Regions from separate parts of the Homo sapiens genome. Here all the other regions are linked to region 2. The links are contacts of gene promoters, found by promoter capture Hi-C in blood cells and fetal thymus (Javierre and others, 2016). All regions are on one chromosome and are shown on one strand. Each heading gives the region's core, a stretch centred on a gene start or on the middle of the fragment in contact. The rest is flanking DNA. Distances are from core to core; before and after follow the strand shown. Region 1 has its middle 18 kb from the start of GRAMD1A. Region 2 holds the start of DMKN (dermokine). Region 3 holds the start of ZNF792 (zinc finger protein 792).

Region 1 (2,700 bases), core at 45-2,544, 530 kb before region 2:
TTTAACATTTAAATATCATGCAGCATTAAAAGACATGGCTGGGTCCAGTGGCTCCCATCTGTAATTCCAGCACTTTGGGAGACCGGCAGGCAGACGGAATGAACCCAGGGTTTTGAGACCAGCCTGGGCAAGATGGTGAGACTCCATGCCTACAAACAATACAAAAATTAGCCAGGCATGGTGGCATGTGCCTGTAGTCCCAGCTACTCAAGAGGCTGGGGTGGGAGGATGGCTTGGGCATGGAAGACCAAGGCTGCAGTGAGCTGGGATGGCATCATTGCACTCCAGCCTGGGTGACAGAGCAAGACCCTGTCACAAAAAATAAATAAATAAACAAACAAACAATAAAAGACATATAAATAAATAACTGTCCTCTACCTTGCATCCACATCCCATAATCAATCATTTTCGTCTTTTGGCTCTTCTATTATTGCTTTATGTTGCTGAATAATTTGCATATTCTAATATCTCTTTTGCATTTTAATCAGTATTATTGAAGGATAGTTTATATACAATAAAATGTGTCTCTTTTTTGTTACTTATCGTTTTGAAACACCTGTATTCCACATGTGTTTATTAGGTGTTTACGATGCTCTAAAAGTGCATTACAAATAAGTCATCAAACCACTAGCTTAGCAAATTCACACAGGCATGTCAGCAGTGGGGAAAATAAAACAATTAATTATAATGTCCCATTAATAATATCCTGTAAATATCAAACACAACGCATTTTTTTTCTTTGTCCTCATTGCAAACTATACTGCCTAGGCCATCCGTAAACAAAAATTTTTGTGTGTATTATAAGTATTTCCATCAGTTTGGGATTCTTAAACTCAAAATTCTTGGCTCTACCAGTTGCAAACTTTTAAAATTTTAATTCTAATCAGTCATATAAATGCACAATAGCAAAAGTCAAAGAATTCAACAAGATTTCTAAACCCAGCAGCTCTCTTCTCTACTCCATGCCGTCCCACCCCATCCCCCTCTCCAGAATTAGCCACTCTCTCTTTTAGTGCATAGTTCTATTTTCATCTCCTTTTTTTTTTTTTTTTGAGTTGGAATTTCACTCTGTTGCCCAGGCTGTAGTGCAGCAGTGCCATCTCCGCTCACTGCAACCTCTGCCGCCCGGGTTCAAGCAATTCTCCAGCCTCAGCCTCTCAAGTAACTGGGATTACAGGCATGCACCGCCACACCAGGCTAATTTTTGTATTTTTAGTAGAGACAGGGTTTCACCGTGTTGGCCAGGCTGGTCTCGAACTCCTGACCTCAAGTGATCCGCCCATCTCAGCCTCCCAAAGTGCTGGAATTGCAGGCATGAGCCACTGTGCCCGGCTCCACGTTTATAAATAGCAGGTTTATATACAGTCTTGAATTTGAATGTTATATATTATCAACTTACTTTTTACTAGAAGATGATGAATTCGCTCTTTTCACTCCTCTCCCACACACATATTTCCTTCCCCCCCCTTCAATCCTCCCAGAATTGTCATGTCATGATTTTTATTAAGTTCACTGATTATGTTATGGAGATCAGGAAAATGTTAGAGATGAGCTATGTCGTGCGCTGTCCTTACATTTCTTTCTCATGCAAACTTTTTGCTTTTCTTTACAACTGTAGTTGAGATTTGTCCTTTTCTCTGCTTTGAATAATTTAAACTCCAATCTCTGTCCTTCTGCTCCAATCTATACTTTCTTCAAGCCAGCTGCATGATTCTCCTGCTGGGACTTCACTTCACCATCTAGTCATGTTGGTCCTCCATTTTCTCTTTCCTGGTTTACTCCCTTGTTTAGGGTGAAAATATCTTCCAGGAGCTTCCTGAGAAAGACTGTTTGGGAGGAAACTTTTTGAGACTTTGTTTGTCTGAAAATGTCTAACCCTGTTTCCACTTGAGTGATAATTTGATAGAAGTCCAGGTTAAACAGCAGTTTTTCCCCAGAGTGTCCAATGTCCTCCCACCTGTGATCCTTTGACTGTGATCTGTTTGGCTTTTTTTTTTTCTCTCTCTGGAAACCTCTAGAACTGATGTTCTGAAATATTATTACCATATTTTAACAATTGTGGAGCACTCTGCAGGCTCTTCAAATTTCTTTCAGTTATGGGGACATTTCTTTAATACTTTCTTCACTACTGGAGTTTCTGTTTTCTCTTTTTTGGAATTTCTGAATTTATCCTCTAATTTTCTTATATTGTCTCTTATTATCCACTTTTGTCTTTTATTCTGCTTTCCAGAAGTTTTCCTTTTAGTTTGTCATTGTTTTTTAGAGACAAATTCTCAGCGGCTGGGCACGGTGGCTCATGCCTGTAATCCCAGCACTTTGGGAGGCCGAGGCGGGCGGATCACAAGGTCAGGAGATCGAGACCATCCTGGCTAACGCGGTGAAACCCCTTCTCTACTAAAAATACAAAAAATTAGCCAGGCGTGGTGGTGGGCACCTGTGGTCCCAGCTACTCGGAAGGCTGAGGCAGGAGAATGGCGTGAACCCGGGAGGCGGAGCTTGCAGTGAGCCGAGATTGAGCCACTGCACTCCAGCCTGGGCGTCACAGAGAGACTCCATCTCAAAAAAAAAAAAAAAAAAAGAGACAAATTCTCGCTCTGTCACTCAGGCTGGAGTGCAGTGGCACTATCATAGCCCACTGCAGCCTCAAACTCCGGGGCTCAAGCAATCCTCCTGCCTCAGCCTCCCAAGTAGCTAGGACTG
Region 2 (2,700 bases), core at 21-2,520:
ACCCAGTGGCTTCTTCATTTGTTCCCAGCCCCTTCCTCTTACCCCTTCATTCTGGTTGCTGGCTCTCACTGAACCATAGCCAGGCTGGGCCACAGCTCCCTGCAGAGAGGGTGAGACTGAGAGTAGGATCCAGAGGGACCAGGGAGGCACGCGGAGCATGTGGGCTTGGAGGGAGGGAGGTGGCAGGTAGCAGGTCTGGGGGTGACTTTACCTGAGTGTTGGTCCCAAAGTTTGGTGGCCCTCCATTGCCTCCTTGACCCCAGGGAGCTCCCTGAGGATTCATTCCAAAGCTGCCTGCTGAGTTTCCGGGGTATCCGTGGACCCACGGAGTCCCCAGACCTCCAGGATTGCCCTGGCCCTGGCCTCCAAGGCCACCTTGAGAGCCAAAGATGCCATGGCCTCCAGAAGTTTCCTGCAAGAACAACATACCTGCACTTAGTGGGACCATCTCTGACCCTGGTAGAGAAGAGCCAGGGCAAATCATAAAGAGACCAGGAGAGAGACAGGCAGAGGGACTCCAGGGTGGCATAGGAGGGGGGCAGAACATAGAAGGAAGCTGCCCCAGAAGCCTGCAAGTAAGAGATCCATCCATCCTTTCAACCGTTTCCCAAGAATCTCAGCCCAGCAGCCCACAGCCTCCCATTTCCACATGCAGCCCCACAGCCACTCACCCAAGCACCATTGTGGCCAGGCACCCCCTGCCAGGAGCCGCGGACAGCATCTGCTCCGTGTCGAATGACATCTTCTGCCTGTCTGCCAATCTCGTGCCCAGTGTTTCCCAGAGCATGGGCTGCTTCCCCGACCCTGTTGCCCAAAGCATCTGCTACGCCAAAGCCTGGAACCTGCCTGACTCCAGTGCCAACTGCTTCTCTGGTCCCTTGGCCAAGGGCCTCACTGACTTTAGAGCCAGCTGCCCCTCCGGCCTCTTTGCCAATGGCCTTTCCCACCCCTTCGCTCAGGGCGTCTCCCAGGCCATGTCCAAGGGCCTCCCCAATATTTGTCCCAGTGCTTTCCTCTCCGCTCTGCAGGGGGCCAGCCTCCCCACTGCCCAGGCAGAGGGCCAGCAGGAGGCAGGCCAGGGGCCCCTGGAACTTCATCTCTGCCCAGCCCCCTCTCTCTCCAGAGTGTCTTCCTCCCACCAGGGTCTCCTCCTTGCCGCCCTTGCTCTGCGTCTCTGTGCCCTCCTCTGTCCTCCTCCTTCCGACTCCCTGTCCTCCCTCCCTCTGGGTCTGCAGCCTTCTCTCTCCTGTCCTCAACTGCCTGGGCTTCTCAGAGTCCACCTCCCTGTCACTACTCCTTATACTCTAGGTTGGGAGAAGGTGACAGGGCTGGGCAACCTGAGGTCCCTCCCCGCAGTGACTCAGGGCCCAGCCACCAATAGGGTAATCAGCTGTTATTGTGAGTCTGAGAGTCTCTGTCGAAACAGAGAGTGAGCCGCATCAGGGAGGGAGGGAGAAATGGATGAGGTGATGCAAAAGTGCTCCCATTTCCCAACCCCAGGCATTCGGGGAGCTGGGTGGGGGCAGGGGCATCTAAGGAGACAGGTTGTCGTTGGCTCCTGGAGGCGGTGGGGTGGGGGCAGACTTAGAAGAGAGGAGTTACTGGCAGGACCCCACCAAAGGAGTAAGGACAGGGAAGCCCCAGGGGACAGGACCCACCCAGGCTCAGCCAGCCTGGCTCAGGGGCTCCAGAGTGACAGGCATTGCCCGTCCTCGGCCTGGCCTTTCTCGGTTTCAGCACCTCAGCCTCTCCTCTCCCTCTCCCCTCCCGCATTGCCACCTACAGGTGACTGCCTTCTTGTTCCTCCACACCTTCCAGCCCACAGAGAGAGACTGGCAAACACGGGGCTGCGTGTCAGTTTCTGAGATTCTGGGGAGAGCCCCCGGGGGGACCCTCGGTGTCGGGGAAGGAGGTGGCCATAGCCCTTTGAGTGGTCAGCAGGGTGTCTCAGCGTTCAGGCTGCTCCCGGCTGAGAAAGCTGGGCGCGGAGCAGGGCAGCCAGGCGCGCCAGCCACCCCCAGGGAACGAGTGGGAGGGAAGGCCAAGGGAGGGAGCCGCTGACCCAGGCACCCATCCTGTTTACGCAGCCCTAGAGGGGCACGTGTGAGTATAAGCGCCTATGAGGGGCGGGACTGGGCCAGCTCACCCCACCCATCCCCCAGGCCAGGGGCCAGGGCAGCAATGGCAAGCGAGAAGAGGGTAGCGCAAGGTCAGGAGCCATCCGTGAGAGCCACGGCCCTCTCCCCAGTCCCAGCTCGGGATACAGAACCTGGGAGCCTCCCCCCGCCTCACCCCTGCCCAGCAAGTGTGGCTGCTTCTCTATTCCCAGGGGCCACAGGGCCTCCCACTGTTTCGTATCACTGGGGTTCATCGCCCAGTTAGGAGGGGCCAGTTTCCATCAGCCTTTCTCAATGTCTCTCAGTCAGTCTCTCTCTTCTCTCCACCCCAATATCCGCACCCCAGCTTATAACATCCAACACTTCTTACCTTGTAAACACTATCCCCATCTGTCCTCCTCAGCTCCTACTTCCCTGTTATTCCATCTCTGACTCGTTAATGATGATAATAGCGATGGTGGTAATAATAATAATAATAATAATAATAATTACAGCTCCAGCTTATCAGCGGTTCTGTATGTACCCAGCATTGGACTAAGCACAAGCAGTTTAAGAATTATACAACTCTGGGAGATGGTTCTTT
Region 3 (2,700 bases), core at 61-2,560, 550 kb before region 2:
AAACCAAAAACCATGGATTCTTCCCTCCTCTTTCTCACCCTCCACATCGGAAAATTTGGTCAGCTTGACTTAAAAGACATCAAGTTCCCAATCACTTCCTCTACCTCCAGTCCTCACTCTGGTCCGGCCAGCCGCAGCACTGGCCTGGGCTATTCCATTAGGCTACTCCTTGGCATCCCTGCTTGCGGCTCACTCCATATTCAGTTCTCCACTGTGCATCCACAGGGAGCCTGTTAAGACCTGAGTCACAGCATCTTCCTCCTCTGCCCTAAACCTTCCATGGCTCCCAACACCCTCAGAACAGAGGCCCAGCTCTGCCGTTCTGAGCTGTCTTCAGCCCACCTGCTCTCTGGTTCCAGCAGACATAATATTAATAACACTGACCTGGGTGGGGTTCCTTGAACACTCCCAACTCAGTCTCCACACCGTGCCCCACCCCACCCCCAAGCTTTTGCGCACGCTGGTTCCTGTGCCTACAAAGCCCTTTCTCCCTCCATCCCATTACATTTCAGCAACGGAAGCCACTTTATATAAACCCTGCCCTGATTCAGGATCCTAGCTGGGAGCAACTCCCTTCCAGGGTCCCCTGACTCAAAAGCAAGGAAATGGGAAAGGCGAAAAGTCCTAGAACAAAGCCATCTTTTGCGTCTCAACACCGAGAACAGAAGCGTGGGGGGCCGACAGCGAAGGGCCTAACGTCCAAGCACTCACCTGCGCGGGGTCCCGCAGCGCCGCCGCTGCCATCGGAGTCTGTGGTCAGAGCAGGGCCCCACGGTGCGGGAAACCACGGGGCGGGGGTAGGGGGTCTCGCAGGCTGAGGCTACCACCCACCTGGCCGTGCCCCAGACGAGGTGTGACCCCGGGCTGAGGGTCGCACTCCTAGCCTCAGTCTCCCCCGTGCAAAATGCGCAAGGGGCCCGGGGCGCAGGCTCCGGGGGCGCCGAGAGCGCGCAGCTCCGCTGGGTACCCCCGTTGCAAGGGGTCACGGCTGGTGCAAAGGCGCGGAGGGGGTCCCGGCCTCACTGTCCCCCTCGCGGTCCGGGAAAGCCGGCGGGGCAGCTTCACGGGCGTAGCCCCAGCCGCCCCGCCCCCAACTCGGGGTCCCCAGCTCCTGGGGACTCAGCCTCCCCGCCGGGAAATGACCTGCGAGGCTGCAGTGCAGGAAGTTCCGGCCCCCACCGTGGCGGCCGGGAGAGTTGCCCTCTCCCGTACTGTCATTGGCCTGGCGCCAGCCGCTGGTGCACAGGCAGGGCCTGGGGATCGCGAGTTTCTGCCCAGCCTCTCGTCAGGCTGAGGGTCCAGGGCGGGAAGGAGAGCGGATCTCGTCGGGTCTCCACCGCCGCCGCCTGCAGCCCTCGGGCCTTCCCCTTAAAGGGGCCGCTCCCGAGCCTGCAGCCGCCCGCGCTAAACCCCGCCCACCCTCCGAGGTCCAGGAGGAGAGCCCCAGTGCTCTTCCTGCGCGTGTGGGCATCGGCCAGCCGCTTCACCCCTAAGGGACCTAAATTCACACTGGAAAATGGGGATAGTACCCAATGGGCGGGGTCTTTGCGTTGTAATATTAAATGTCGCTCTGATTCAGGGCTTCTCAAACCAGCAACATCAGCATCACCTGGGGACTGGCTGAAAATGCAGGTTCTGGGGCAACAACTTAAATCTAAGGACTCAGAAATTCTGGGGATGGGATTCAGCCTTCTCTACTTTTTGCGGGGGGGGCGGGGGGGATGGGTCTCGTTCTGTTGTCCAGGCTGGAGTGCAGTGGCCTGATCATAGCTCACTGCAGCCTCCATCTCGGGCTCAAGCTATCCTCCTGCCTCAGCCTACCAGGTAGATGGGATACAGGCGTGCACCATCATACACAGCTAATTTTAAAATTTTTTGTAGAGACTGGATCTCCCTGTGATGCCTAGGCTGGTCTCAAACTCCTGAGCTCAAGTGATCCTCTCACCTCGGCCTCCCAAAGTGTTGGGAATTGCAGGAGTGAGCCATGGTGCCAGGCCTCCTTCTCTGTTTTAACAAGCCCTCTGGGGACTCCAATGCTGGCTCCAACTTTACAGCAGGGACTCTCATTGAAATCCAGTAAATAAAATGGGAAAAATAACACTACATTGTTGCAGGAAGTCAGGGACCCCGAACGGAGGGACCTGCTGAAGCCGTGACAGAAGAACATTAATTGTGAAGATTTCATGGACATTTATTAGTTCCCCAAATTAATACTTTTATAATTTCTTATGCCTGTCTTTACTGCAATCTCTGAACATAAATTGTGAAGATTTCATGGACATGTATCGCTTCCCCAATCAATACTCTTGTGATTTCCTATGCCTGACTTTACTTTAATCTCTTAATCCTGTCATCTTCGTAAGCTGAGGATGTATGTCATCTCAGGACCCTGTGATGATTGCGTTAACTGCACAGATTGTTTGTAGGGCATGTGTGTTTGAACAATATGAAATCTGGGCACCTTAAGAACAGGATAACAGCGATTTTCAGGGAACAAGGGAGATAACCTTAAAGTCTGGCTGCCTGTGGGACGGGCAGGACAGAGCCATATTTCTCCTATTACCAAAAACGGGTAAGAGAAATATCGCTGAATTCTTTCCCCAGTAAGGAATATTAATAATTAACAGCCCTGGGAAAATAATGCATTCCCAGGGCAGTGCCTCTAAAATGGCTGCCCTGGGAGTGTCTGCCTTATGCACA

What was found. The method cuts DNA at HindIII sites, captures the fragments that hold promoters and counts their contacts. A CHiCAGO score of 5 or more calls a contact.
Region 1: a contact is called between a fragment that was not itself captured here and the fragment with the promoter of DMKN in region 2, in 1 of 17 cell types (total B cells). The highest score is 5.8, in total B cells.
Region 3: the fragment with the promoter of ZNF792 here is called in contact with the fragment with the promoter of DMKN in region 2 in 3 of 17 cell types (naive B cells, naive CD4 T cells and total CD4 T cells); the score reaches 6.1 in naive B cells.

The regions. Positions count from the first base shown.
Region 1 is chr19:34,980,991-34,983,690 of GRCh38, forward strand. No RefSeq gene overlaps it. Among named protein-coding and RNA genes, the nearest start is that of GRAMD1A, 18 kb to the right of the region's middle. The HindIII fragment of the contact is 6,510 bases long and covers 1-2,700 here.
Region 2 is chr19:35,512,379-35,515,078 of GRCh38, forward strand. DMKN (dermokine) reads right to left here and starts at 1,271. Exons shown (of 16, transcript NM_033317.5): 1 at 672-1,271; 2 at 212-412; 3 at 43-99. The coding sequence starts at 1,097. The HindIII fragment of the contact is 13,607 bases long and covers 1-2,700 here.
Region 3 is chr19:34,962,919-34,965,618 of GRCh38, forward strand. ZNF792 (zinc finger protein 792) reads right to left here and starts at 1,311. Exons shown (of 4, transcript NM_175872.5): 1 at 712-1,311. The coding sequence starts at 744. LOC124904699 (a long non-coding RNA gene) reads left to right here and starts at 508. Exons shown (of 2, transcript XR_007067236.1): 1 at 508-755. RefSeq lists silencers at 653-702, 813-1,072. The HindIII fragment of the contact is 6,406 bases long and covers 447-2,700 here.